Regions from separate parts of the Homo sapiens genome. Here all the other regions are linked to region 7. The links are contacts of gene promoters, found by promoter capture Hi-C in blood cells and fetal thymus (Javierre and others, 2016). All regions are on one chromosome and are shown on one strand. Each heading gives the region's core, a stretch centred on a gene start or on the middle of the fragment in contact. The rest is flanking DNA. Distances are from core to core; before and after follow the strand shown.

Region 1 (3,738 bases), core at 167-2,666, 310 kb after region 7:
AGAGATTCGCTGTTAGTCTGATGGGTTTCCCTTTGTGAGTAACCCGACCTTTCTCTCTGGCTGCCCTTAACATTTTTTCCTTCATTTCAACTTTGGTGAATCTGAGAATTATGTGTCTTGGAGGTGCTCTTCTCGAGGAGTATCTTTGTGGTGTTCTCTGTATTTCTGGAATTTGAATGTTGGCCTGCCTTGCTAGGTTGGAGAAGTTCTCCTGGATAATATCCTGCAGAGTGTTTTCCAACTTGGTTCCATTCTCCCCATCACTTTCAGGTACACCAATCAGACATAGATTTGGTCTTTTCACATAGTCCCATATTTCTTGGAGGCTTTGTTCATTTCTTTTTACCCTTTTTCTCTAAACTTCTCTTCTCACTTCATTTCATTCATTTGTTCTTCCATCTCTGATACCCTTTCTTCCAGTTGATGGAATTGGCTACTGAAGCTTGTGCATTCTTCATGTAGTCTCATGCCATGGTTTTCAGCTCCATCAGGTCATTTAAGGACTTCTCTACACTAGTTATTCTAGTTAGCCATTCGCCTAATCTTTTTTCAAGGTTTTTAGCTTCTTTGCATTGGGTTCAAACTTCCTCCTTTAGCTCAGAGGAGTTTGATCGTCTGAAGCCTTCTTCTCTCAAGTCGTCAAAGTCATTCTCCATCCAGCTTTGTCCCATTGCTGGCGAGGAGCTGTATTCCTTTTGAAGGGGAGAGATGCTCTGATTTTTAGAATTTTCAGCTTTTCTGCTCTGTTTTTTCCCCATCTTTGTGGTTTTATCTACCTTTGGTCTTTGATGATGGTGACATACAGATGGGGTTTTGGTGTGGATGTCCTTTCTGTTTGTTAGTTTTCCTTCTAACAGTCAGAATCCTCAGCTGCAGGTCTGTTGGAGTTTGCTGGAGGTCCACTCCAGACCTTGTTTGCCTGGGTATCAGCAGCGGAGGTTGCACAACAGCGAATATTGCTGAGCAGCAAATGTTCCTGCCTGATTGTTCCTCTGGAAGCTTCGTCTCAGAGGGGTACCCAGCCATGTGAGGTATCAGTCTGCCCCTACTGGGGGGTCCCTCCCAGTTAGGCTACTCGGAGGTCAGGGACCCACTTGCGGCAGTCTGTTCATTCTCAGATCTCAAACTCTGTGCTGGGAGAACCACTACTCTCTTCAAAGCTGTCAGACAGGGACGTTTAAGTCTGCAGAGGTTTCTGTTGCCTTTTGTTTGGCTCTGCCCTGCCCCTAGTGGTGAGTCTACAGAGGCAGGCAGGCCTCCTTGAGCAGTGGTAGGCTCCACCCAGTTCGAGCTTTGTTTACCTACTCAAGCCTCAGCAATGGCAGGTGCCCCTCCCCCAGCCTCGCTGCCACCTTGCAGTTCAATCTCAGACTGCTGTACTAGCAATAAGCGAGGCTCTGTGGGCATGGGACCCTCTGAGCCAGGCATGGGATATAATTTCCTGGTGTGCCATTTGCTAAGACCATTGGAAAAGCACAGTATTAGGGTGGGAGTGACCCTATTTTCCAGGTGCCATCTGTCACCCCTTCCCTTTGTTAGGAAAAGGAATTCCCTGACCCCTTGTGCTTCCGGGGTGAGGTGATGCCTCATCCTGCTTCAGCTCACATTCAGTGGGCTGCACCCACTCTCCTGCCCCCACTGTCCGACGAACCCCAGTGAGATGAACCCAGTACCTCAGTTGAAAATGCAGAAATCACCCATCTTCTGCATCACTCATGCTGGGAGATGTAGACTGGAGCTGTTCCTATTCGGCCATCTTGGAACTGCCCCCCGATTTTCTTAACTGTGTGTTTTACCAAGCAGAAACTTTTAATTTTAATTAATCAAGCTTATTATTTTTTATGGGTTTTGCCTCTGGCGTTATATTGCCATATCCAAGTCATTGATTTTCTCCTGTTATTTGCTGGGAGGTTAATAGTTCTGCATTTTATATTTAGGTCTATGCTCTATTGGATTAATTTTTGTGAAGGATGTAAGATTTGATCTAGATTCATTTTTTTTACACAGAAATGTCCAGTTGTTTCAGCACCATTTATGGAAAAGACAACATTTCTCCATTGCATCCCCTTTGATCCTATATCAAAGAGTAATTGACTATATTAATGTGGGTCTATACCTTAGCTCTCTGTTCTATTACTTTGAACTATTTGTTTATTCTTTCATCAATACCTCACCATCTTGATTACTGTAGCTTTCAGTAAGCCCTGAAGTTGGTTAGTGTAAGTATTCTGACTTTCTTCTCTTTCAATGTTGAGTTGGCTATTCTCGGTCTTTTGCTTTTCCATATAAACGTAAAATCAAGATGGTCAGCAAAGCCTGAGTCCTGTCCTCTCGCTCTCCTCCTCGGACAGCATGAGCTTCACCACTCGCTCCACCTTCTCCACCAACTACTGGTCCCTGGGCTCTGTCCAGATGCCAAGCTATGGTGCCCGGCTGGTCAGCAGCAAGGCCAGCGTCTATGAAGGTGCTGGGGCCTCTGGTTCCCTGATCTCCATGTCCCACTCCACCAGCTTCGGGGGCGGCATGGTGTCCAGAGCTCTGGCTGTGGGGATGGCTGAGAGTCTGGCAGGAATGGAAGGCATCCAGAACAAGAAGGAGACCAGGCAAAGCCTGAATGACCACCTGATCTCCTACCTGGACAGAGTGAGGAGCCTGGAGACCAAGAACCAGAGGCTGGAGAGCAAAATCTGTGAGCAATTGGAGAAGAAGGGACCCCAGGTCAGAGACTGGGGGCATTACTTCAAGACCATAGAGGACCTGAGGGCTCAGATCTTTGCAAATACTGTGGACAATGCCCACATCGTTCTGCAGATTGACAATGCCCATCTTGCTGCTGATGACTTTAGAGTCAAGTATGAGACAGAGCTGGCCATGCTCCAATCTGTAGAGAGCTACCTCCATGGGCTCTGCAAGGTCATTGATGACACGAATGTCACTCGGCTGCAGCTGGAGACAGATCAAGGCTCTCAAGGAGGAGCTGCTCTTCATGAAGAAGAACCACAAAGAGGAAATAAAAGGCCTACAAGCCCAGATTACCAACTCTGGGTTGACCATGGAGGTAGATGCCCCCAAATCTCAGGACCTCAACTAGATCATGGCAGACATCCAGGCCCAATATGACGAGCTGGCTCAGAAGAACTGAGATGAGCTGGACAAGTACTGGTCTCAGCAGATTAAGGAGAGCACCACAGTGGTCACCACACAGTCCACCGAGGTTGGAGCTGCTGAGATGATGCTCACAGAGCTGAGACATACAGTCCAGTCATTGGAGATCAACCTGGATTCCATAAGAAATCTGAAGGCTAGCTTGGAGAACAGCCTGAGGGAGGTGGAGGCCCCCTACACCCTTTAGATGGAGCAGCTCAATGGGATCCTGCTGCACCTGAAGTCAGAGCTGGTACAGACCCGGGCAGAGGGACAGCGCCAGGCCCAGGAGTAGGAGGCCCTGCTGAACATCAAGGTCAAGCTGGAGGCTGAGATCTCCACCTACTGCCGCCTGCTGGAAGATGGCGAGGACTTCAATATTGGTGATGCCCTGGACAGCAGCAGCTCCATGTAAACCATCCAAAAGACCACCACCCACCAAATAGTGGATGGCAAAGTGGTGTCTGAGACCAATGACACCAAAGTTCTGAGACATAAAGCCAGCAGAAGCAGGGGACTTTTGGGGAGAAGGAGGCCAATAAAAAGTTCAGAGGTCAAAAAAAAACTAACTTAGAATCAGTTTATGTAACAAAA
Region 2 (4,012 bases), core at 773-3,272, 360 kb before region 7:
GATTACAGGCATGAGCCACTGTGCCTGGCCTAGATTCTGTTTTTACATACATGATTTAGGATTGTTTTATCTACAATTCATTTGTATATAGCTTTACTTTATCAGCTTGAAGTATTGCTGTTACAGGTGCCTCCTAAAAATAATGTGGATGTTTTTCTTTTTTTTTTTTTGGACTCTGGTCTTTGAAGATTTAAGAATATACCACAGTGAAACCATTGGGGCTTTTGATGGGTATTTCTTTGATAACTTTCTTGTTTTTGTCTCTGGAGTTTGTAATGTTTAAATTTTCTATCTCTACTGAGGTCAATTTTGGTAAATTGTGTTTTCCTAGGAAATAATTCATTTTATCTAAGTTTTAAAAAATGTATTTGCATTGTGCATAGTAGTCTTTTCTGACTTTTAAAAATGTTCTGTTTTAGTAATTTTCTTCTGTCACTTTATTTTTGTGTTTGTGTTTTTCCCCTTTTTTCCTTGATTCTTTTTCTCTAAACAACCAATATTTTGATTGATTTGTTCTACTGGTTTTGTGTTTTCTGTCTTACTGACTTATACTTTTATCTTTATTGCTTTCTTTGGCTTCTTTTGTTTTTCCCTCTGGTTCATTTTTCTAGGGAGGTGTTTATTCACTGTTTTCATTGCTTTATTTGTATGGATTAAAATATTCATGGCTATACATTTTTTTCTTAAAACTGCTTCAGTTGTATTTTATAGATCCTGTTACATAATGTTTTTATCTTAGTTTGTTTCCCCTTTGTTGCAAGAGGCTTTTATTGTAAGGGTTTTATTCCAGGTAGAAAGAATGGCCTTTCTTTGTATATTATTACTTAAACTTTTTTTTTTTCATTATGATCAGAGAACTTACTGAGATTTTCGTTGCCACTTAATATATTGTTGGTGTTCATGAATGGTCCAGGTACACTTTACTTAAAATTTTTTTTTCGACACGGAATCTTGCTGTGTTTCCCAGGATGGTCTCGAACTCCTGGCCTAAGCAATCCTCCTGCTTTGGCCTCCCAAAGAGTGCTGGGATCATAGGCATGAGCCACCTGCACCCAGCACCCATGTACACTTTATTTTTTTGGAGACAGAGTCTCACGCTGTTGCCCAGGCTGGAGTACAGTGGTGCGGCTCACTGCAACCTCCACCTCCCAGGTTCAAGCGATTCTCCTGCCTCAGCCTCCCCAGTAGCTAGGAATACAGGCACACGCCACCACACCTGGCTAATTTTTGTATATTTAGTAGAGACACGGTTTCACCGTGTTGGCCAGGCTGGTCTCAAACTCCTGACCTCAAACGATCCAATTGCCTTGGCCTCCCAAAGTGCTGGGATTGTAATCTCCCATGTATACTTTAGAAGGTGGATATTTTCTTATCAAATTTTGATAGAGATCCCTCTTGTCTAGTTATTGATTATATTGTCTCTGTCTTTCATGTCTGTATTTTCTGTTCACTTGATCTGTTTTGGGGGGCATATTAATATCTGCTTTCTTATAAGTGTATTTCTATCTTTTTTAACGTTTGCAATTTCTGCTTTATAAAGGGGGCTACTGTGTTTTTGGTACATAGATTTTCACAACTAATATTATTATGAATTATATTTTTAGCATTATGAAGTGAACTTCTTTATTTCATTTAAAGCCTTTGAGCCCAAATTCTACTTTGTTTCATTGCAGGGTAGCAATCTCTGTTTTCTTACTGCTTGTGTTTGCATTCCTTAGGACTGTATTATGTAAGAGGATCATACATGCTGTCTGTTACCTTGTGCCCTCTGCTGCCAGTTGTGGCCATGTGACTGACTTTGACTGATGAAGTATGAGTGGAAGGCACTTCTGCCATGGCTTTTACCCTTCTGTAAGAAATTAAGAAGAGTATATATACCGGATAAGTGCTACATTCCAGAGTAGAGAATGATGACACTTGGAGAAAGAGGCAGCAGTCACAGCCAGTCTGCAGTAAACAAGTCAAGTGACTGAGAGAAGCCTTTGGGAGATGTCAGGGTTATTTGCTGTTATGACAGTTCTAATGAGAGCTGCTTGATTTGTTTGGTATACTTTTGACCATCTCTTTATTTTAAGCCTTTCGGAATAGGTATTTTAGTTGTGTTTCTTGTACTGAGCACAAAGTTGGGTTTTGTTTTTTGAGCAGATCTGAAAATGACGAGTATATGATTGGTTCTTAACTGTCATACTACTATATTTACTGTATATTATATTTTCATTGCTATTTGTCTTCATGTCTCTTTTTTTATTTAGGAAGGTTTGTAATTTTGTTCTACTGGTTACCTTTATGCTATAAATGTTTTTAAATATCCTTAGCTCCTTTTCCTTACTTAGGCGCCTATTATTTTGTTCACTCCAGAAAACTCCTGTTACCTATGTGCTTCTCAGTGAGCACGTTCTACATCTCTTGTTCTCTAATATCCCTTTTTTTTTAAGCTGTTTGTACTTTGTCAGACATAGAAGTGTTTCCCTATTATTTTTCTACCCTTGTCCTTACATTTTGTCTTAGATCTACAATACAACATATGCAGTGACACCACCAGTCATTTCAGCTATGTTTCCTAGTCATCTCTTAGTTATCCCTTGGGTCCTGGCTTACACTGGGGGTTGCATGCTGGATGGCCTGGTTGTATAATCCTTGGCTCACACTTTTTTCCCCCTTGAGTTTCTGGTAAAGCATTGTTCCACTGTTGTTTTGCTCCGTATATTGCTGTTGAAGTCTTAGCCTGATTTTCTTAGTTTTATAAGTAACTTTGAGTTTTTATGTGGAAGCCCAGAAATGTTCTTCATTTATAAAATCTAGTCATCTTACTAGGATATGTTTCACAGTAGACTATTCTGGGTCAGTTTTCCAAGTACATGTAGGCCTGTTCAGTATTTCGATTCATGCCTTTTGTTTCCAGAAAATTTTCTCAGATTGTGAAAATGGGTTTTTTCTTCCCCTCTTTAGGGACTCTCATTACATGGATATTGGCTCTTTGCCCATCCTGTATTACTTTTACTTAGATCCTTTTCTCTTCATTTTTGTTCTCTTGGCTGTTTTCATAGTTTTCCTTATTGTCAGTAGAATCTGCTTTCCCCTTAGGTATGCTATAACAGAGATTTTATTTCTGAGATCATTTTGTCTTTTTATTTCTATCCTTCTAGAATTTGAAACAAGAGTTCATCATCTTATTTTTTTGTGTATTTCCATGATGAGTTTTTAAATTTCTAGCTTATGATGTACTTTCATATCTGTTTAATAATATTTCAGTCATATGGAATTGTTTTCCTGTGCCTTGTGATTGTTTTAGGGAACGTATTTTAATTCTTGTTTCTTTTTTGTTTTGGGGCTTTTTTGGTATGGCTCATTTTTATTTTAATATTTGTTCCTTTTTTACAACTTTTATTTTAGAGTCAGGGGGTACATATGCAGGTTTGTTAACTGGGTATATTGTGTGATACTGAGGTTTAGGGTACAGATGATCCTGTCACCCAGATACTGAGCATAGTACCCAATAGTTTTTCAACTGTTTCTCTCCCCATACCCCGCTAGTGTCCCCAGTGTCTACGGTTGCCATTTTTATGCCCATGGGTATCCAGTGTTTAGCTACCACTTATAAGTGAAAACATGCGGTATTTGGTTTTCTGTTCCTGCATTAATTCACTTAGGATCTTCTTTCTTATGTAGTAGCTTCATATGGATGCTGTTTCTCCTTTCTGTTTAGTGTAGAGAGTCACAGAGTTTCTTGGACACACAATAGCATGTGTTTCTGTGATAGGAGATGAGCGGTTTGTGTGACTTCATGGGTTTCTTAGTTTAAATGCTGCGTTGTGTAGGTACAGTTAAGTGCGGTTTCTTTAATGAATGGTGCTGTGGAGGGGTAGGTTTGTGTGACTTCTAATTCTGTGATACTCTTTTGTTTCAAGAACGTATTTCCATCACTTGCCTTCTTTCCTTTCACTGCCAAACCTCCATAGAGCTGCCCCCACCTTCTAAGTTGCCTTCTCCCAGAAGCAGTGTCTTCTGGAAA
Region 3 (3,538 bases), core at 364-2,863, 340 kb after region 7:
AGACTGGATACAGAAAATGTAATACATATACACCATGGAATACTATGCAGCCATAAAAAGGAACAAGATCATGTCTTTTGCTGAGACATGAATGGAGCTGGAAGCCATTATCCTCAGCAAGCTAATACAGGAACAGTAAACCATACACCACATATTCTCACTTATAAGTGGGAGCTCAACAACAAGAACCCATGGACACAGGGAGGGGAACAACACACACTGGAGCCTGTAGTGGGGTGGGGTTGGGGGAGAGAGAGCATTAGGAAAAGTGGCTAATGAATACTAGGCTTAATACCTAGGTGATGGGTTGATAGGTGCAGTAAACCACCATAATACACATTTACCTATGTAACAAACCTGCACATCCTCCACATGTACCCTGGAACTTAAAGATAATTTTTTTTAAAAAATGACTGTGGCTTCTGTCTTGATCGATCTCTCTCTCTCTCTCTCTCCCTCCCCCCGCCCCCTCTCCTCCCTTTCTTGGATTGCTCACCCCAGGGCAGCAGGTAGTAAGTCAGCCCTGTACAGGGAGCCTACATGGCAAGGAGCCGAGCCTGCCAACAGCCACATGAGTGAGCTTCACCCACTCCCAACTCATCAGACCTTCAGATGACACTGCAGCCCTGGCCCACAATTTGAAGCTTCATGAGAGCCCTTGAATCAGACACACCCAGCTAAGCCACAAATGGATTCCTGGCCCACAAAGATAATAAATATTTGTTGTATTAATCACCTAAATTTTGGAGTAATTTGTTATACAACATAGATAGCAAATATAGTCATCTTATCTAGAAGTCACTTCTCTTTATTATTCAAAGAAGTGAGGGTCAGGGTTAGTGGGTTTCATTTCTTGCCTAAAACATTTCCACCAGACCCTGCCCCAAACACCATGCATGGGCCCTGGGGGTCAGAGATCTAAAGAACACCTCCTACAAGCTGTGTGACCACATTTAACCTTGTTTAACCTCTAAACCTGTTTTTCATCTTTAAAGTGGTATCTGGTCCATTGATCTAAACCTTTTTCCTCACCTTTGAAATAGGATCTAGCCCATTAATCCCTGAGGATGATTAAAGGAGATAGAGTGCATGAAAGTCCTAACAGTCTCTGGCACATGGTGGACATTCAGTAAACATTCCCTCTCATCCCCATATCAAGCACAATAACAGCCACTAGCAGAGCAAATTAGCTTCCAACAAATGGCTGATCACAGTTCAAAGTGGATTGCAACCATTTTGCAAAAGATGCAAGCCTATATTCTGTTTCTTTGTGGTATCTCTGAGGAACAACTAGAGAGAAGGCATGGAGTCTACTCATACCCTAATGTCTAAAGACCTGCTTCACAGAAGTATCTCTGTTGCTAATCAGGTGGCCATAGGCAAGCCAGCCTCTCTGCGCTGTGACTTTCTCAACTTAAAACAATGCTGACTCCCACTTCCCAGTCCAGCATGTAAGGAGCTTGGAAGCTGTCGCTCTGTCCTCACAACAAGTGAGAAGCTGAACAAACTACAAAATCAATAACTTTTTATAGACTCTTCAGAAAAGTAAGGTCACAAGGTAAACTGCTGCCTTTAAAAGTGTAAAGATGGTGGTACAGCGAATCACAACTTAGCATAGAAGAAACTCAAAGCAGACACCTCTGTGGGAACCCATGCTGTGGTAGGAAGACCTGACCCATAACTGACAAATTGCTGGAGGTTCAGCGTGGCCAAGCCAGCAAGATGAAAACAGGCTGGGAGAGTGCAGTTAGAGGGAAACCTCAACACTTTTGTGAGTTTTACCTCCAGGAGCCCAGCATGCTTCACAACAAAAATGGGAGAAAAATTTCTTCATGCTTCTGGCAGGAGGAGGGAAATAGAAACCATTATTAAATATGCCAGAGCACTCTGCTCTTTTTAACAAGATCTGCCCTCAGGAGAAACTATTTAGCCAGAACCTAACCTAAGGTTAAGTTTTACCAGACTCTACCCTGCCTGGGAGAAGCAAAATTCCCAACTCCAGCAGCTCTACCCTTCCACATAGAAGAGAAGTACACAATTCCTGACTTGTCTATCCATCATGTCCCACCTAAGAAGTGGGGAGACAGAAAAGCACTTACAAAGTTTACAACCCAGAGTCACAGACTCTCTGAAAGACTCAAAACTAATCACAGGACTATAGAACATTTCCCCTTCCCCCACACCTTACCACCACATCATTAAAGGCCTGTTTAAAGGCATCCCTTTTACCCAATACATCATATTCAAGTATCTAGAAGAAAACACAAGGAATATTAAAAGGCAAAAAACAAACAAAGTTTGAAGACACTGAGTGAACATCAAAACCAGAGTCAGATGTGGCAGAAATGTTGAAATTGTAAGACCAGCGATTTTCCTAAAACTATGATTAGTATGCTAAGGGCCCTAAATGACAAAATAAGCAATATACAAGAACAGAGGATAATGTGAGTAGAGATGGAAATTCTGAGAAAGAATCAAGAAGAAACTATAAATATCAAAAACACTGTAACAGAAATAACAAATGCCTTTGATAAGCTCATTAGTAGACTGGGCATGGCTGAGGAAAGAATCTCTAAGCTTGAGAATATGTCTATAAAAACTTCCAATACTGAAAAGCAAAGAGAAAAAGACAGAAAAAATAAAACAGAATATCCAAGAACTATGGAACAGCTACAAAAGAGGTTATATATGTGTAATGCGAATACCAGAAGGAGAAGAAGAAGAAGGAGCAGCTGTGGTTTGAGTGTGTCTCCCTAATTTCAGATGTTGAAAATTCAATCACCAAATTCACATGTTGATTAGAGGTGGGACCTTTGGGAGGATTAGATTAGGTCATCAGGTCCCCATGACAGGACTGGTGGTTTTATAGGAAGAGAAGAAAGACCTAGGCTTACACACATGCTTTTGCCCTCTCACCATAAAATGATCTTCACCATGTTATGACTCAGCAAGAAGGCCCTCCTCAGATGCTGACACCTTCATATCGGACTTCCCAGGCTCCAGAACTGTAAGAAATGCATTTCTTTTCTTTATAAATAGCCCAATCTGTGGCGTTTTGTTATAGCAACAACAACAACAAAAAATAAGGCTGGACGTGGTGGCTCACGCCTGTAATCCCAACACTTTGGGAGGCCAAGGCGGGCAGATCACAAGATCAGGAGATTGAGACCATCCTGGCTAACACAGTGAAACCCAGTCTCTACTAAAAATACAAAAAAAAAAAAAAAAAAATTAGCTGGGCCTGGTGGCGAGTGCCTGTAGTCCCAGCTAATCAGGAGGCTGAGGCAGGAGAATGGAGTGAACCCAGAAAGCAGAGCTTGCAGTGAGCCAAGATTGCGCCACTGCACTCCAGCCTGGGTGACAGAGAGAGACTCTGCCTCAAAAAAAATAATAATAATAATAGACAAAAACAGAAGATACATTTGAAGCAATAGTAACAGAATTTCATCAATTTTTTGTCAGACAACAAACCACAGATCCACAAAGCTCAAAGAATACCAACCAGCATAAATGCCAGAAAAATGACTCCTAGGCATAT
Region 4 (4,013 bases), core at 245-2,744, 370 kb after region 7:
AGCTGAATAGTATTTTAAAGCCAAAATGCTACAATTTACTTGCCATGTTTTATAATTTGCTTACATTCAGATGGTGTACCATCTTGTGTTCTGTTATGAAATAGCACAACCATGCATAAATGACCCTGCCATCCTACCCCTAGAACTTTATTTACCATGAAATGCCTCCACGTACTTTCATTTGCATGTCTTGAGAACTGAACCGTAGACCCCTCTTCCCTGTCAGTGTTGACCATCGATATTTCCTCCCACATGTGGCTTCTGTTTCTGTCTCTGGGCAGATTTATTCTAACCTGCCCTCAAATCTGTAAGAAGATTGTTCATTCCCTAGGGCTAGTCCAAGTCTCCTGGCCTGGTGCTTACTTCAAATTCACCTAAATCTGGCATAAAAGCTTTCAGGACAAGGTGGATCAAACTGCGCCCTTGTGTGAGTACTCCCTGGACAGAATGTCTGGTTATCTTCGGTGTAAGTTATTTCCCATGACTCACAAATAGAAATCAGGAGAGGAGGGAGGTAGGAGGTGCAAGCCTCTGCAGCTGTCTGGAGAGTCAGCAAAAGGGAGACAGAATCTTTAGTTACTTCACATGTGTGACAATACGCCTATGTTTTGTTTTATGTTGTTTATTTCTTATGTAACATTGTTGAGTTATCAAATGAAGTGGTGTATAAAAATGTCAAATAAACAGGTTCTCTCCCTTTCTTCCTGACCACATAACTCTAAGAAGCATGGCCAGACCCGCCGGGCGCGGTGGCTCACGCGTGTGATCCCAGCACTTTGGGAGGCCAAGGAGGGCAGATCACGAGGTCAGGAGATCGAGACCATCCTGGCTAACACGGTGAAACCCCGTCTCTACTAAAAATACAAAAAATTAGCCGGGCATGGTGGCGGGCGCCGGTAGTCCCAGCTACTCGGGAGGCTGAGGCAGGAGAATGGCGTGAACCCGGGAGGCGGAGCATGCAGTGAGCCCAGATCAGGCCACTGCACTCCAGCCTGGGCTACAGAGTGAGACTCCCTCCAAAAAAAAAAAGAAAAAAGCCCGACCAGACCTATGGCTCAGTGGCGTCTATACACGGCCACATCTGAGAAAGCCAGGGATGGGTGGCCTCATCGTACCCCAAGCACAAGGCGTCATCCACGCAGCCCTGCTGGTTTGATAGCAGCAGCCCGGGAGAGCTCTAGGGATTTTCATTTGGTGGGCTTGTCTATTCTCTAGCTCACCCTCAAAAGGGGAAGTGCCCAGAAAGTCACCAGCTGAAGCAGGCTCAGAAGACCGGGGCCCATTTGCTCATTTGTTCCTTGCACAGAGTTTAGGAAGGTACCCATCCTGCAGGAAACACAACCTGGCTTCTCGAATAAATGAGTTGCAAAGAATGGAGACGGGGAGATAGGGAGAAAAGGAGGTCAGGGCAGTGGAGTGTGAGGCAAAGAGAAAGAAAGGGAGAGAGTTGGGGAGGACACCTGCCAGTTAAAGGAGATTGAAAACAACTCACTGCAATAGGTAATTTAGCTCCTAATTTAAAGAAACCGCTAAAAAAAGATTATGATATTTATGAGACAATTGGAAATATAAACATAAACTGGATATTTGATGATACTGAGGAAATTGTTGCTCATTATTTTACATACAGTAATAGTATTAAGATTGTATTTTTTTCAACTTTTATTTTACATTCAGGGGGTACATGTGCAGATTTGTTACCTGGGTATATTGCGTGATGCTGAGGTTGGGGTACAAATAATCCCATTTCCTGGATATTTTTTTTTTTTTTTTTTTTTTTTTTTTTTTTTTGAGACGGAGTCTCACTCTTTCGCCCAAGCTGGACTGCAGTGGCGCTATCCCGGCTCACTGCAAGCTCCGCCTCTTGGGTTCATGCCATTCTCCTGCCTCAGCCTCCCGAGTAGCTGGGATTACAGGCGCCCACCACCACGCCCGGCTAATTTTTTGTATTTTTAGTAGAGACGGGGTTTCACCGTGTTAGCCAGGATGGTCTCGATCTCCTGACCTCGTGATCCGCCCGCCTCGGCCTCCCAAAGTGCTGGGATTACAGGCGTGAGCCACCGCGCCCGGCCCATTTCCTGGATATTGAGCGTGGTATCTAATAGTTGCTTTTTCAATTTTGACCCCCTGCCTACCCCTCACCTCTAGCAGTGCCCAGTGTCTATTGTTGCTTCTTTATGTCCATGAGTACCCAATGTTTAGTTTCCACTTAGAAATGAGAACTACTGGCTTTCTGTTCCTGCCTTAATTTACTTAGGATAAGGGCCTCCAGCTGCATCCAAATTGCTGCAGAGGACATGATTTTGTTCTTTTTTTATGGCTGCATGGTATTCCATGGTGTATTTGTACCACATTTTCTTTATCCAGTCGATATGATTATATTTTTTAAGATGACTTCTTATATTTTAGTGGTACACAGCAAAACATTTACTGGATGAAATGATATGATGGTGACAGCATAAAGAAACCAGTTGGCTATAAGTTTGTACTTATTTAAGCAGTGACCTAGAGTTTTCATTAGGGAACTCACTCCATAAATGTCAAGATAAGGAGACCTTTTCTCTGAACTCTAAAGAGAAAAGTTTCTCTAAGCTTTTATCAACAGTGGGATGAGGAGCAGGCCACCTGCACTGTGGGTGATGCAGAATTGATAGGGGCTGGTGTCTGCACCTCACCCTTCAGCTTCAGGATGTCATACAAACTTTATTTGGTGAAGCCCTGGGTCCCACCCTGCCCTCTGCTGCACCTGGAGTAGCTAAGTCGGGAGTCTCTTGTTTCCATTTCTCCCAGTAATGTGGTCTGCATGGGGAAGGCAGGCCCATGCCTGCATGGGGAAGACATGGCCTGATCGTTGATGATGCTGAGGTTTGAGGCACAAATGATCCCATTGCCTGGATACTGAGCATAGTGTCCAATAGTTAGTTTTTCAACCCTTGCCCTCCTGCCTCCCTCCCTGATAGTGTCACGCTTTCCTTTCCAGCACCCCCCACCCAAGCCTTGTGTATGTGCTAATTCCTCACTCTGCTCTGGGTTGGGTAATCCTTCCTGTACACAGGAAAGGAACAGGTGAGAATGGCGGCTCAGTTCTAGGTAGGATACAGGCAACCTGCAGCGCTCCCCCTGAAGGCTTGGCTCAATTACACATTCTTATCTGCCCATTTGTCAACAAATAGGGACCTGCTCTGCCCACAGCGCTGGTGGATGCAGTAAACCAGGTCCCCGCTGTCCGTGAGTTTTGCCCTGTTTAGTGCAAAGGTATCAAATGACTGAAGACAATTAGCATCCAACAATGGGAATAAAATTGAATACATCGATGTGGATTACAGTCAACCTAAGCTGGTAGTCTATTTATGTAAAATTTGGACAAAACTAACCTAGCCTGATAAAAGTCAAGTCAGAGGTTGCCCTGGTAGGGTCAAGGAAGGCGGTTAGCTGGGCACACATGTAAGGGACTTTCTGCAGCAGTGGAATGTTCTAGATTTTGATTTGGGGAAACCGTTACATCTTCTGTCAAACCTCACTGACCTAGAGGAAGTGACACTTCTCTGAGAGTACCTGGTATATGATTATGATTTCTGAGATCGTGTCAATGTATTATGTATTTGAGAAACAAAACTAAACCAAAAGGGCAGGGAAAATCCTCCTGCCAATGGCAGCATGGAAAAACTCACTCTATCACATATACATGAAGTTGATGAGTGGTAACAATTTGATGTCTAAACCAGGGATTCCTGTCCTGGTCTAAGGATGTATTATGACAGAAGCCCCAAAACCCCCTAAAATAAGATGCAAAATGCCGTTCATATATTGATTTTTCTAGGAGGGAAAACCACTGTTCCATCAGATTCTCAAAATGGTTCCTGACTCAGTGGACTTAGAAACCCCTCTTCTAAAAAAAAACAAATAATCTCATGAGTTAATGCTGGAGTATGCAGGAAGCATAGAGCCCAGTGCCTCTGTCCTTGGGGAATCACATTTTTCCTGAAAGCTTCCAGAAAGTTGAAAGGCTGGCA
Region 5 (4,023 bases), core at 375-2,874, 380 kb before region 7:
TGCTTGAACCCAGGAGGTGTAGGTTGCAGTGAGCTGAGATCGAGCCACTGCACTCCAGCCTGGTAGACAGAGTGAGACACCATCTCGAAAACAAACAAACAAACAAAAACAACAACAGTTGGAACAAGAAGGCAGATTGCTGCTGTATTTGACCTCAGCTTGGAACATATGTGTCAGGCCACCCACATTTTTGCCCACTCTGAGCGTCTGTGAATGACGGCAAAAGTGCCACAAGTGTTGATTTTAGGAATGCAACTTAATTTTAGCAAGTAGGTGAGTTTGCAAATATGAAATCCATGAATAATAAGGGTTGACTGTGTTTTTAAAGACAGTTACTACCATGTTAAGAGTAGATTTGCGAAGACCCAGTTCTTCCCACCTGATAATGAAGAAATGCTAGTACCGCACCCTAAATAAGCCTGGGACGGTGTAATCTAGTGATGGGGAAATTATTTCACTTTCCAAGACAGTCTTAGATGTTTCCATAAGAGCCAAATGTGATGCAAACCAAATATGCCACCGTGGAAAAAGGTTTTGTGAAATCTGATTTATTCAACTATTGGCCATTAACAACCAATTACAAACACTTATAGCAACAGAGAAAATATATGTTTCATAAACAAACAAAAAATACAAACTACAAGCATACTCCTAATAATACTTACACATGTGTAAGTTTGATGGATAAAAATGAGATAGCACTATATATGTATAAAAAATTAAAAATGTTTCATTGAGCAGGTAGAATTATGAGCATCTTTTTTTCCCTAAAATTTCTCCTAATGTAATATTAAATAATCATGTGAAAGGAATTCAAAGAGTATGTGAGAAATAAACCATTTTTCCCTTTAAGCAGTTGTGTCTGTGGCTCACAACCATTTAACTTACATTAAGCATAGATAAGAAAGGTCCTAGAATATATAATATAAATAAAAATTGTCAAAATGATCTTATGCCCATTTGCCATAAATAAAGGCATCAAGTTAATTTCAAAACTTGTTTTTAGACTTTTACATCAACTAATAAAAAGAAGAATATTTGGTCGGGCACAGTGGCTCATGCCTGTAATCCCAGCACTTTGGGAGTCTGAGATGGAAAGACTGCTTGAGCTCAGGAGTTTGAGACCAGCCTGGGCAAGAGAGCAAGACCTCATCTCTACTAAAAATAAAAATTAAAAAACAACTGGGTTTGGTGGTACATGCCTGTAGTCCCAGCTACTCAGGAGGCTGAGGTAGGAGGACCACTTACGCCTGGGAGATTTAGGCTGCAGTGAGCTTTGATTGTGCATTTTATTTTTTTTTATTTTTTTTTTTTGATGCTGTATTCTTTATTGCATCTTATCGACTGGTGCATGATTTCGGTTTTTCTCATTTTTTTTTTTTTTTTTTATTATACTCTAAGTTTTAGGGTACATGTGCACATTGTGCAGGTTAGTTACATATGTATACATGTGCCATGCTGGTGCGCTGCACCCACTAATGTGTCATCTAGCATTAGGTATATCTCCCAATGCTATCCCTCCCCCCTCCCCCGACCCCACCACAGTCCCCAGAGTGTGATATTCCCCTTCCTGTGTCCATGTGATCTCATTGTTCAATTCCCACCTATGAGTGAGAATATGCGGTGTTTGGTTTTTTGTTCTTGCGATAGTTTACTGAGAATGATGGTTTCCAATTTCATCCATGTCCCTACAAAGGATATGAACTCATCATTTTTTATGGCTGCATAGTATTCCATGGTGTATATGTGCCACATTTTCTTAATCCAGTCTATCATTGTTGGACATTTGGGTTGGTTCCAAGTCTTTGCTATTGTGAATAGTGCCGCAATAAACATACGTGTGCATGTGTCTTTATAGCAGCATGATTTATAGTCCTTTGGGTATATACCCAATAATGGGATGGCTGGGTCAAATGGTATTTCTAGTTCTAGATCCCTGAGGAATCGCCACACTGACTTCCACAATGGTTGAACTAGTTTACAGTCCCACCAACAGTGTAAAAGTGTTCCTATTTCTCCACATCCTCTCCAGCACCTGTTGTTTCCTGACTTTTTAATGATTGCCATTCTAACTGGTGTGAGATGATATCTCATAGTGGTTTTGATTTGCATTTCTCTGATGGCCAGTGATGATGAGCATTTCTTCATGTGTTTTTTGGCTGCATAAATGTCTTCTTTTGAGAAGTGTCTGTTCATGTCCTTCGCCCACTTTTTGATGGGGTTGTTTGTTTTTTTCTTGTAAATTTGTTTGAGTTCATTGTAGATTCTGGATATTAGCCCTTTGTCAGATGAGTAGGTTGCAAAAATTTTCTCCCATGTTGTAGGTTGCCTGTTCACTCTGATGGTAGTTTCTTTTGCTGTGCAGAAGCTCTTTAGTTTAATTAGATCCCATTTGTCAATTTTGGCTTTTGTTGCCATTGCTTTTGGTGTTTTGGACATGAAGTCCTTGCCCACGCCTATGTCCTGAATGGTAATGCCTAGGTTTTCTTCTAGGGTTTTTATGGTTTTAGGTCTAACGTTTAAATCTTTAATCCATCTTGAATTGATTTTTGTATAAGGTGTAAGGAAGGGATCCAGTTTCAGCTTTCTACATATGGCTAGCCAGTTTTCCCAGCACCATTTATTAAATAGGGAATCCTTTCCCCATTGCTTGTTTTTCTCAGGTTTGTCAAAGATCAGATAGTTGTAGATATGCGGCATTATTTCTGAGGGCTCTGTTCTGTTCCATTGATCTATATCTCTGTTTTGGTACCAGTACCATGCTGTTTTGGTTACTGTAGCCTTGTAGTATAGTTTGAAGTCAGGTAGTGTGATGCCTCCAGCTTTGTTCTTTTGGCTTAGGATTGACTTGGCGATGCGGGCTCTTTTTTGGTTCCATATGAACTTTAAAGTAGTTTTTTCCAATTCTGTGAAGAAAGTCATTGGTAGCTTGATGGGGATGGCATTGAATCTGTAAATTACCTTGGGCAGTATGGCCATTTTCACGATATTGATTCTTCCTACCCATGAGCATGGAATGTTCTTCCATTTGTTTGTGTCCTCTTTTATTTCCTTGAGCAGTGGTTTGTAGTTCTCCTTGAAGAGGTCCTTCACATCCCTTGTAAGTTGGATTCCTAGGTATTTTATTCTCTTTGAAGCAATTGTGAATGGGAGTTCACTCATGATTTGGCTCTCTGTTTGTCTGTTGTTGGTGTATAAGAATGCTTGTGATTTTTGTACATTGATTTTGTATCCTGAGACTTTGCTGAAGTTGCTTATCAGCTTAAGGAGATTTTGGGCTGAGACGATGGGGTTTTCTAGATAAACAATCATGTCGTCTGCAAACAGGGACAATTTGACTTCCTCTTTTCCTAATTGAATACCCTTTATTTCCTTCTCCTGCCTGATTGCCCTGGCCAGAACTTCCAACACTATGTTGAATAGGAGCGGTGAGAGAGGGCATCCCTGTCTTGTGCCAGTTTTCAAAAGGAATGCTTCCAGTTTTTGCCCATTCAGTATGATATTGGCTGTGGGTTTGTCATAGATAGCTCTTATTATTTTGAAATACGTCCCATCAATACCTAATTTATTGAGAGTTTTTAGCATGAAGGGTTGTTGAATTTTGTCAAAGGCTTTTTCTGCATCTATTGAGATAATCATGTGGTTTTTGTCTTTGGCTCTGTTTATATGCTGGATTACATTTATTGATTTGCGTATATTGAACCAGCCTTGCATCCCAGGGATGAAGCCCACTTGATCATGGTGGATAAGCTTTTTGATGTGCTGCTGGATTCAGTTTGCCAGTATTTTATTGAGGATTTTTGCATCAATGTTCATCAAGGATATTGGTCTAAAATTCTCTTTTTTGGTTGTGTCTCTGCCCGGCTTTGGTATCAGAATGATGCTGGCCTCATAAAATGAGTTAGGGAGGATTCCCTCTTTTTCTATTGATTGGAATAGTTTCAGAAGGAATGGTACCAGTTCCTCCTTGTACCTCTGGTAGAATTCGGCTGTGAATCCATCTGGTCCTGGACTCTTTTTGGT
Region 6 (3,976 bases), core at 1,149-3,648, 330 kb before region 7:
CTAGACCTCTTCTGACAGCACACCAGCTGGAGAAAGAAGGGGAACCTCTTTCCTGCTTGACAGAGACAGGATGCAGGCTCCCAGTGTGGTCTGCACTGCCTTAGTGTCAGGGGGTTGGGTGGGGATCAAGCCTCAGCTCCCTATTTGGCCTTCTCTGAAGCTCCTAAGCAGAGGTATTGGGGTGCTTCTTACAGTCTTTCAAGAATGGACTTTAGGACTCCTTCTTCAGCCTTTGATGATGTAAATGGAGTTAGGGCCTCAGTTTTTCTGTGATATTTGGCTGGAGTAGAGCAGTTATTGTCTAAGTGTTTTCTCTCTTGCTGGGCTGCCCCTTTTCTAGTCCTTTGGCCAGAGAGAGCAGGCTTTTGTCTCTTCTCTTTTTATCTGTGCATACTGGCATTTCTGGGTTGCTGGTTCTTCAGTTTCATGCCATGGATATAGGAAGGGAAAAGAAAACTGAGGGAACCCACTACCACGTTTTCCCTTGGGAAACGTTTGTTTTTTAGAAAATGACCTGGGCTTTTAGTAGTGCTTAGTGGGAGGATTAGGGGAAAGGATGTTTACTCCATCTTATTGGAAGCAGAATTCTTCTGAGCTATTTTTAACTGGTTAAGACTTCATGTATTTAATGGTCTTGTCTAGTAAAATTTCTACTATATGGTATTCGGATAAAATAATATATTTCATAGCTAAACAAACATAAGATACATAATTATTTTCTAAAGGACAACAGATGAGAATGACTTTGCCTGATATAAGAGGGTAAATCTTTTAAATTTAACTCTGCGTTCTGTGCCTAGGTTGGGGCAAACACAATGGATAATCCTTTGTTGAAATACAGTGCAAAGGATTACTTCTTCAAAGCTGCCCTCTGCCACTTCATAGTAGACGAGTTGAATGCCAAGGTAAGGAGTTCTTCAGCATTGATTGACTGATTTCACCCATAAGAATACGTACACATTCTCTCTTGTTCTTGGTATCATTTCATTTTGATGTTAGTACCAAGAATAAACGGGTACATTAAAAATAAGTATTATTCTGTGGTATGTGTCCCAGTTGTAATCTTTTAACAGCTGTCAAAGCTGTTCTCAAAAGTTACCTGATAGTTTATAGCCATACCACCCTGAACACACCCAATCTCGTCTGATCTCAGAAGCTAAGCAGTGTAGAGCCTGGTACTTGAATGGGGGGCACTGCCTGGGAATATTTAGTGCTATAGGCTTAAATATATGTATATGTTCACTGGTAGCCACCATTTTTTTTTCAGTAGTTTTGCTTTAAAGAAATTAAGGGGGCCAGGCGTGGTGGCTCACATCTGTAAACCCAGCATTTTGGGAGGCCAAGTGGGGTGGAGCACCTGAGGTCAGGAGTTTGAGACCAGCCTGGTCAAAATGGTGAAACCCCGTTTCTACTAAAAATATAAAAAAATTAGCTGGGTGTGGTGGCGGGTGCCTGTAAGTCCAGCTACTTGAGAGGCTGAGGCAGGAGAATCACTTGAACCTGTGAGGCAGAGGTTGCAGTGAGCTGAGATCGCACCACTGCACTCCAGCCTGGGTGACAGAGTAAGAGTCCGTCTCAAAAAAAAAAAAGAAAGAAATTAAGGAACTAAGGGAGGAGACAATAAGAGTAGGATAATATCCATTTAAAAAACAACCAAAACAACAGGCAAGCTCAGAAATGGTGTTGGAGTGAGGACTGGGAAGAAGTTGAAAAGCACAGTGAGCACTGGGAGCCAAGAGGCAAAAAGACAGGCAGCCTTGGCATGGCCAGTGTCTGGAGTTGGAAGAGCAGAACTAAAGCCAGTAAGAGAAACTGTTCTTTCTGTCAGCTTCGAGCAGGAAGCTAAATGTAATTTATTTGGAATCTGGACTGTATTAAGAACGTCTCCATTTAATGGATGGATACAGATACCTGGTCTGTGAGTGTTTAAGAATTCATTTTCATTTACAATGTCTTCTCAGCAGCAGCCTAACTCAGAAAAAAGTAGTTTAGAAATTATTCTTTATTGAAATGGAAAATTCAGAATAGAAAGATTTTCTATGTTGATTCTGCTTTTGAGTTTAACTACATACTTTTTCAACACTTAATAGGATATAGGTAGATCTTATTTGAAGCTGATAGAATGTTGAAAGCTTTGTTTGTTTAGTAAGTCTGAAATTGATGAGTGGTTTTTCTCTCTCAGCTTGCTCTTGAGAAATATGAGGAAATGTTTCCAGCATTTACTGATTCAAGAGAATGTAAATTATTGAAAGTAAGTAATATTAGAACTTTGAAGAAAAATGCTTTTGTTCTGTTAGGTGACAACACCTAAGTGGGATTGGGTATGAAGTGAAGTTTTAATCTATAAAGTCTGCTAACTGAGGGGCCCTGGTACTTTCCTGCTTTCGTATTATAGGTGTTCAAATGCAATTAAGGTCAGAAACATGTAGTTGTGTTCTGAAATAGGCACCTGAGAAATGTTACTACAGAAGCTAGATCCCTAACTTGGCTCTTGACTTGTATATGAGTATTTCCTCAGTTTTGTGCAATATTTGGCAACATTGGTATTATACTTAAAGTATATATTTAGAAATGGGACTTCATCTTACAGAACTGTTTTTTAAAATATTTTTATGCTACCAGAAACTCCTAGAAGCTCATGAAGAACAGAACAGTGAAGCTTACACTGAAGCAGTAAGTTATGCTTTTGGGACATGGTACATTATTTGAAGATTTAAGTTAAAGAAACTTCTTTTCCTTTTCATTATGTGAATTCTAAACATTTATTTGAACATGACTCCAGCATACCTTAAGTTGTATTTTCCAAACGTCACCTTTTATATATCACACAAATTAAACAGTTCCATTAGCCATGCTGAGATTCGACTTACACTCAAAACTAATTTAGCTGTGAGACTAGTTCAGGAGCAAATATTCCATTTATATTCTTATAATTTGCTGTTTTAATTTTTTCTTTTGAAAATAATCTGACCCATAAATAAGTATAAAGTAAAATTAGTTAAGGCCAGGCACGGCGTCTCACACCTGTAATCCTGGCACTTTCGGAGGCCGAGGCAGGCAGATCATGAGTCAGGAAATTGAGACCATCCTCGCCAACATGGTGAAACCCCGTCTCTACTAAAAATATAAAAATTAGCCAGGCATGCTGGCACACGCCTGTAGTCCCAGCTACTCGGGAGGCTGAGGCAGGAGAATCGCTTGAACCCGGGAGGCAGAGGTTGCAGTGAGCTGAGATTGCACCACTGCACTCCAGCCTGGTGACAGAGCGAGACTCTGTCTCAAAAAAAAAAAGAAAAAAAAAATTAAATATAATTTAAAATATAAAAACTAAGTAGTGAGAATTTGCTGTATTTGTGGCATGAAATAAATGGAAGGTGGCCAGGCACGGTGGCTCACACCTATAATCCTAGCACTTTGGGAGGCCAAGGCGGGTGGATCACCTGAGATCAGGAGTTTGAGACCAGCTTGGCCAACATGGCAAAACACCATCTTTACTAAAAATACAAAAATTAGCCAGGCATGGTGGAGTGTGCCTGTAATACCAGCTACTCGGGAGGCTGAGGCAGGAGAATCTCTTGAACCCAGGAGGTGGAGGTTGCAGTGAGCCAAGATCACGCCATTGCATTCCAGCCTGGGCAACAAGAGTGAAACTCCATCTCAAAAATAAATAAATAAATAATAAATATATATATATATTAAAAATATGAGGGTTTTTTTCTTTATACTTTTTGTTTTTCCATCTTTTGCCATCTCATGTTTAGAATCAAGCAAAAAAAAATGTTTTTATATATTTTGAAACAGATCCTCACTCTGTCACTCAGGCTGGAGTGCTGTGGTGTGATCACGGCTCACTGCACCCTCAACCTCCTGGGTTCAGGTGATCCTCCCACCTGAGACTCCTAAGTACCTGGGACTACAGGTGCACACCACCACCCCCAGCTAATTTTTTTTTTTTTTTTTGCATTTTTTGTTGAGA
Region 7 (3,868 bases), core at 1,333-3,832:
GAGGGTCAGGGGTAAAGCCCTTACAGGTGGGAAAGCCAAGTGGGTCATGTCCACCCATCCTTGTGTAGGGCAACCCAGACACTGTGGTACCCCCCATGGGACAATGCTCTGCTTCTATCTGTTGTTGCTCTAGTTTCTTTCTAATACAGAAACATCCAACATCTGCACCTCCTCATATAGGGTTGATCCAAGTTTCACAGACATCACTGAGTTCTTAGTGGACTCAGCTATTGGGGCTGTTCTCACACTTTTTTTTTCTTTGCAAGAATCAGCAATGGGTGCAAGTGGACCTGTGTAGGACGTCCAGTGAAACATTGTGTTGGTGAATCAGCTAGAATCCATCCAAGAACTCAGCCAGCCTGGTGTGGGGTGAGATCTGATCCTTGAATGTCCCTCAGTGGCTTTTAGGGCTGGCAGGTTCAGAAGGGCCCTCTCATCACCCCCCCAGGGCCTCATTCCTTGTTTAACACTTTGCTATCACAGTCTTGAATCCTTGTAATTGAACAATGGACCCCACATTTTCACTTTGCACTGGTTTCTGATTCTGTAACCGATCCTGTCCCCCTCTCTTGTCTCATTCACTCTGGGAATTGTCCCCACATTCTGAGACCTTTCAGCAGTGCCCCAACGAGGTTCCTGCCCTTATCTGAAGCTCCACCCTCACCCCCATGGCGGCACCGCAGGCAGCCCTGCTTTTGCGTCCCGCGTAGGCAGGCTGTGCACCGGAGTCACGACCCCCTGATTCAGCCTAGGCAGCCACAGCTTGACTGCTCCCGCCGGACAAGCCCTACTGTGCTATCTGCCGCTCTTCCCTTCCTCTTCCCAGGGGGTCCGCGTCAGGGGAGGCGCAGCTGTGTGCATTCCGGGAGCTTCAGACCCCCGTGTCCAGCAGCTCCTTCGTTTCCTGGGTGCTGGGGCGGCCTTCCCAGCGAAGAGCTCAACTCAGCGGGACGTTTGGAGGCTCTCTGCCCCAAGGCGCTGGGGAGTGTGCGGCGGGACAGTCGTGCTTGCCTTTTTCACTTTCAGAGTGTCCACGCCCCACCCGTTTGGTCACTGCAGGTCAGTCCAGTCCAGCCCGGCCCACCCCACCGGTGCGTGTCTGTCGCACGTGGCAGACGCCATACTCTCTGTTCTTGTTTAAAGCCCAGGATCTACTGGGCCCTGGAGGCAAGAGGTGAACGCAGCGGAATCCACGCTGAGCTGCCCGGGAACGGAGCTTCCAACCCCAGAAGGAGGACTCTGTGCTCCTACACCTTAACCCTTTTTAGCCCGAAACTTCTCCAACTTCCTTGGCTTTGTTTAGAGCTCGACAGCGCCGCCCCCTGGCGCTCGTTGTGAGGACAGTAGAGGAGAGAGGCAAGGGTGTTTTTAAACAGTTTGCCTCTCACCATTATGGGGGCGACCCGAGGGGGAGACCCACTCTTCCGCATTCCCGGTAAGTGAACCACCGGAAGAGGTCGAAAGTGACGGATTCCCATGTCCTCCTCCAGCCCCCCCCCCACCCTGCCCATCCACAGGACGGTGGCTCTTCAGTGCCCTTTGCCGAGCAAGTGGCGTTTCTATGCACGTGGGTATCAATTCGGACTCTGGACGAAATGGAAACCTCCTTAGCCGACCCGGGTGGGATCAGCTGGGATCCTGCGCGCTCCCCTGGGGGGTTGCCAGCCACTCTGTTGGGGTGCAAGAAGCACCATCCTTCGGAAGCTGGGCCGAAACTGGCCAGGCTGACTCGCTCCCACGCGCCCGCCCCTACCCGGCGCCGCAGCAATTCACCTGCCACCGCCTCTGAGCCGGGTCCGGACTTCGGCGCCCTGACAGTGTCCCCGCGACTTCCCCACCCGATGAGATGGGGTCTGGCGTTGGCCAGTGCGTGTCCAGGGACTCGCGGGTCCCTGGCCAGCCATGGGGCAGAGGGCGCTGGTGTTAGGCCAGTCTTCCCCACCCTGCCCCGTCACCCCAGCCACACCCACTGTCCTGTGAGGCCAAGCGCGCTCCGCTGGTTTCCTGAGCCAGGCACCTTGGCCGCGGACAGGATCCAGCTGTCTCTCCTTGCGATCCTGTCTTCGGGGAAGTCCACGTCCTAGGCAGGTCCTCCCAAAGTGCCCTTGGTGCCGATCACCCCTCCCAGCGTCTTGCAGGTCCTGTGCACCACCTCCCCCACTCCCCATTCAAAGCCCTCTTCTCTGAAGTCTCCGGTTCCCAGAGCTCTTGCAATCCAGGCTTTCCTTGGAAGTGGCTGTAACATGTATGAAAAGAAAGAAAGGAGGACCAAGAGATGAAAGAGGGCTGCACGCGTGGGGGCCCGAGTGGTGGGCGGGGACAGTCGTCTTGTTACAGGGGTGCTGGCCTTCCCTGGCGCCTGCCCCTGTCGGCCCCGCCCGAGAACCTCCCTGCGCCAGGGCAGGGTTTACTCATCCCGGCGAGGTGATCCCATGCGCGAGGGCGGGCGCAAGGGCGGCCAGAGAACCCAGCAATCCGAGTATGCGGCATCAGCCCTTCCCACCAGGCACTTCCTTCCTTTTCCCGAACGTCCAGGGAGGGAGGGCCGGGCACTTATAAACTCGAGCCCTGGCCGATCCGCATGTCAGAGGCTGCCTCGCAGGGGCTGCGCGCAGCGGCAAGAAGTGTCTGGGCTGGGACGGACAGGAGAGGCTGTCGCCATCGGCGTCCTGTGCCCCTCTGCTCCGGCACGGCCCTGTCGCAGTGCCCGCGCTTTCCCCGGCGCCTGCACGCGGCGCGCCTGGGTAACATGCTTGGGGTCCTGGTCCTTGGCGCGCTGGCCCTGGCCGGCCTGGGGTTCCCCGCACCCGCAGAGCCGCAGCCGGGTGGCAGCCAGTGCGTCGAGCACGACTGCTTCGCGCTCTACCCGGGCCCCGCGACCTTCCTCAATGCCAGTCAGATCTGCGACGGACTGCGGGGCCACCTAATGACAGTGCGCTCCTCGGTGGCTGCCGATGTCATTTCCTTGCTACTGAACGGCGACGGCGGCGTTGGCCGCCGGCGCCTCTGGATCGGCCTGCAGCTGCCACCCGGCTGCGGCGACCCCAAGCGCCTCGGGCCCCTGCGCGGCTTCCAGTGGGTTACGGGAGACAACAACACCAGCTATAGCAGGTGGGCACGGCTCGACCTCAATGGGGCTCCCCTCTGCGGCCCGTTGTGCGTCGCTGTCTCCGCTGCTGAGGCCACTGTGCCCAGCGAGCCGATCTGGGAGGAGCAGCAGTGCGAAGTGAAGGCCGATGGCTTCCTCTGCGAGTTCCACTTCCCAGCCACCTGCAGGCCACTGGCTGTGGAGCCCGGCGCCGCGGCTGCCGCCGTCTCGATCACCTACGGCACCCCGTTCGCGGCCCGCGGAGCGGACTTCCAGGCGCTGCCGGTGGGCAGCTCCGCCGCGGTGGCTCCCCTCGGCTTACAGCTAATGTGCACCGCGCCGCCCGGAGCGGTCCAGGGGCACTGGGCCAGGGAGGCGCCGGGCGCTTGGGACTGCAGCGTGGAGAACGGCGGCTGCGAGCACGCGTGCAATGCGATCCCTGGGGCTCCCCGCTGCCAGTGCCCAGCCGGCGCCGCCCTGCAGGCAGACGGGCGCTCCTGCACCGCATCCGCGACGCAGTCCTGCAACGACCTCTGCGAGCACTTCTGCGTTCCCAACCCCGACCAGCCGGGCTCCTACTCGTGCATGTGCGAGACCGGCTACCGGCTGGCGGCCGACCAACACCGGTGCGAGGACGTGGATGACTGCATACTGGAGCCCAGTCCGTGTCCGCAGCGCTGTGTCAACACACAGGGTGGCTTCGAGTGCCACTGCTACCCTAACTACGACCTGGTGGACGGCGAGTGTGTGGAGCCCGTGGACCCGTGCTTCAGAGCCAAC

The links. Contacts are between HindIII fragments. The CHiCAGO score rates a contact against its expected background, and 5 or more counts as called.
Region 1: a contact is called between a fragment that was not itself captured here and the fragment with the promoter of THBD in region 7, in 6 of 17 cell types (megakaryocytes, M1 macrophages, M2 macrophages and 3 more). The highest score is 9.9, in megakaryocytes.
Region 2: a contact is called between a fragment that was not itself captured here and the fragment with the promoter of THBD in region 7, in 4 of 17 cell types (neutrophils, monocytes, M0 macrophages and 1 more). The highest score is 9.2, in neutrophils.
Region 3: a contact is called between a fragment that was not itself captured here and the fragment with the promoter of THBD in region 7, in 7 of 17 cell types (endothelial precursors, M0 macrophages, neutrophils and 4 more). The highest score is 14.4, in endothelial precursors.
Region 4: a fragment that was not itself captured here is called in contact with the fragment with the promoter of THBD in region 7 in 2 of 17 cell types (neutrophils and megakaryocytes); the score reaches 6.9 in neutrophils.
Region 5: a contact is called between a fragment that was not itself captured here and the fragment with the promoter of THBD in region 7, in 1 of 17 cell types (neutrophils). The highest score is 6.2, in neutrophils.
Region 6: a fragment that was not itself captured here is called in contact with the fragment with the promoter of THBD in region 7 in 5 of 17 cell types (neutrophils, monocytes, M0 macrophages and 2 more); the score reaches 11.9 in neutrophils.

What each region holds. Positions count from the first base shown.
Region 1 is chr20:22,732,704-22,736,441 of GRCh38, reverse strand. It overlaps the pseudogene KRT18P3. Among named protein-coding and RNA genes, the nearest start is that of LINC01747, 49 kb to the right of the region's middle. RefSeq lists a silencer at 1,224-1,323. The HindIII fragment of the contact is 829 bases long and covers 1,002-1,830 here.
Region 2 is chr20:23,410,059-23,414,070 of GRCh38, reverse strand. All of the region lies in intron 1 of NAPB (NSF attachment protein beta), which reads left to right. Among named protein-coding and RNA genes, the nearest start is that of NAPB, 9.4 kb to the left of the region's middle. The HindIII fragment of the contact is 5,372 bases long and covers 1-4,012 here.
Region 3 is chr20:22,709,665-22,713,202 of GRCh38, reverse strand. No RefSeq gene overlaps it. Among named protein-coding and RNA genes, the nearest start is that of LINC01747, 26 kb to the right of the region's middle. The HindIII fragment of the contact is 1,933 bases long and covers 647-2,579 here.
Region 4 is chr20:22,672,759-22,676,771 of GRCh38, reverse strand. All of the region lies in intron 2 of LINC01747 (long intergenic non-protein coding RNA 1747), which reads left to right. Among named protein-coding and RNA genes, the nearest start is that of LINC01747, 11 kb to the left of the region's middle. The HindIII fragment of the contact is 2,200 bases long and covers 395-2,594 here.
Region 5 is chr20:23,429,493-23,433,515 of GRCh38, reverse strand. No RefSeq gene overlaps it. Among named protein-coding and RNA genes, the nearest start is that of CSTL1, 8.2 kb to the left of the region's middle. The HindIII fragment of the contact is 4,256 bases long and covers 1-3,752 here.
Region 6 is chr20:23,378,142-23,382,117 of GRCh38, reverse strand. It overlaps NAPB (NSF attachment protein beta), which reads left to right. Exons shown (of 11, transcript NM_022080.3): 8 at 801-905; 9 at 2,183-2,251; 10 at 2,623-2,673. It also overlaps the pseudogene RNA5SP479. Among named protein-coding and RNA genes, the nearest start is that of GZF1, 18 kb to the right of the region's middle. The HindIII fragment of the contact is 527 bases long and covers 2,135-2,661 here.
Region 7 is chr20:23,048,386-23,052,253 of GRCh38, reverse strand. THBD (thrombomodulin) reads left to right here and starts at 2,582. Exons shown (of 1, transcript NM_000361.3): 1 at 2,582-3,868. The coding sequence starts at 2,750. The HindIII fragment of the contact is 6,749 bases long and covers 1-3,868 here.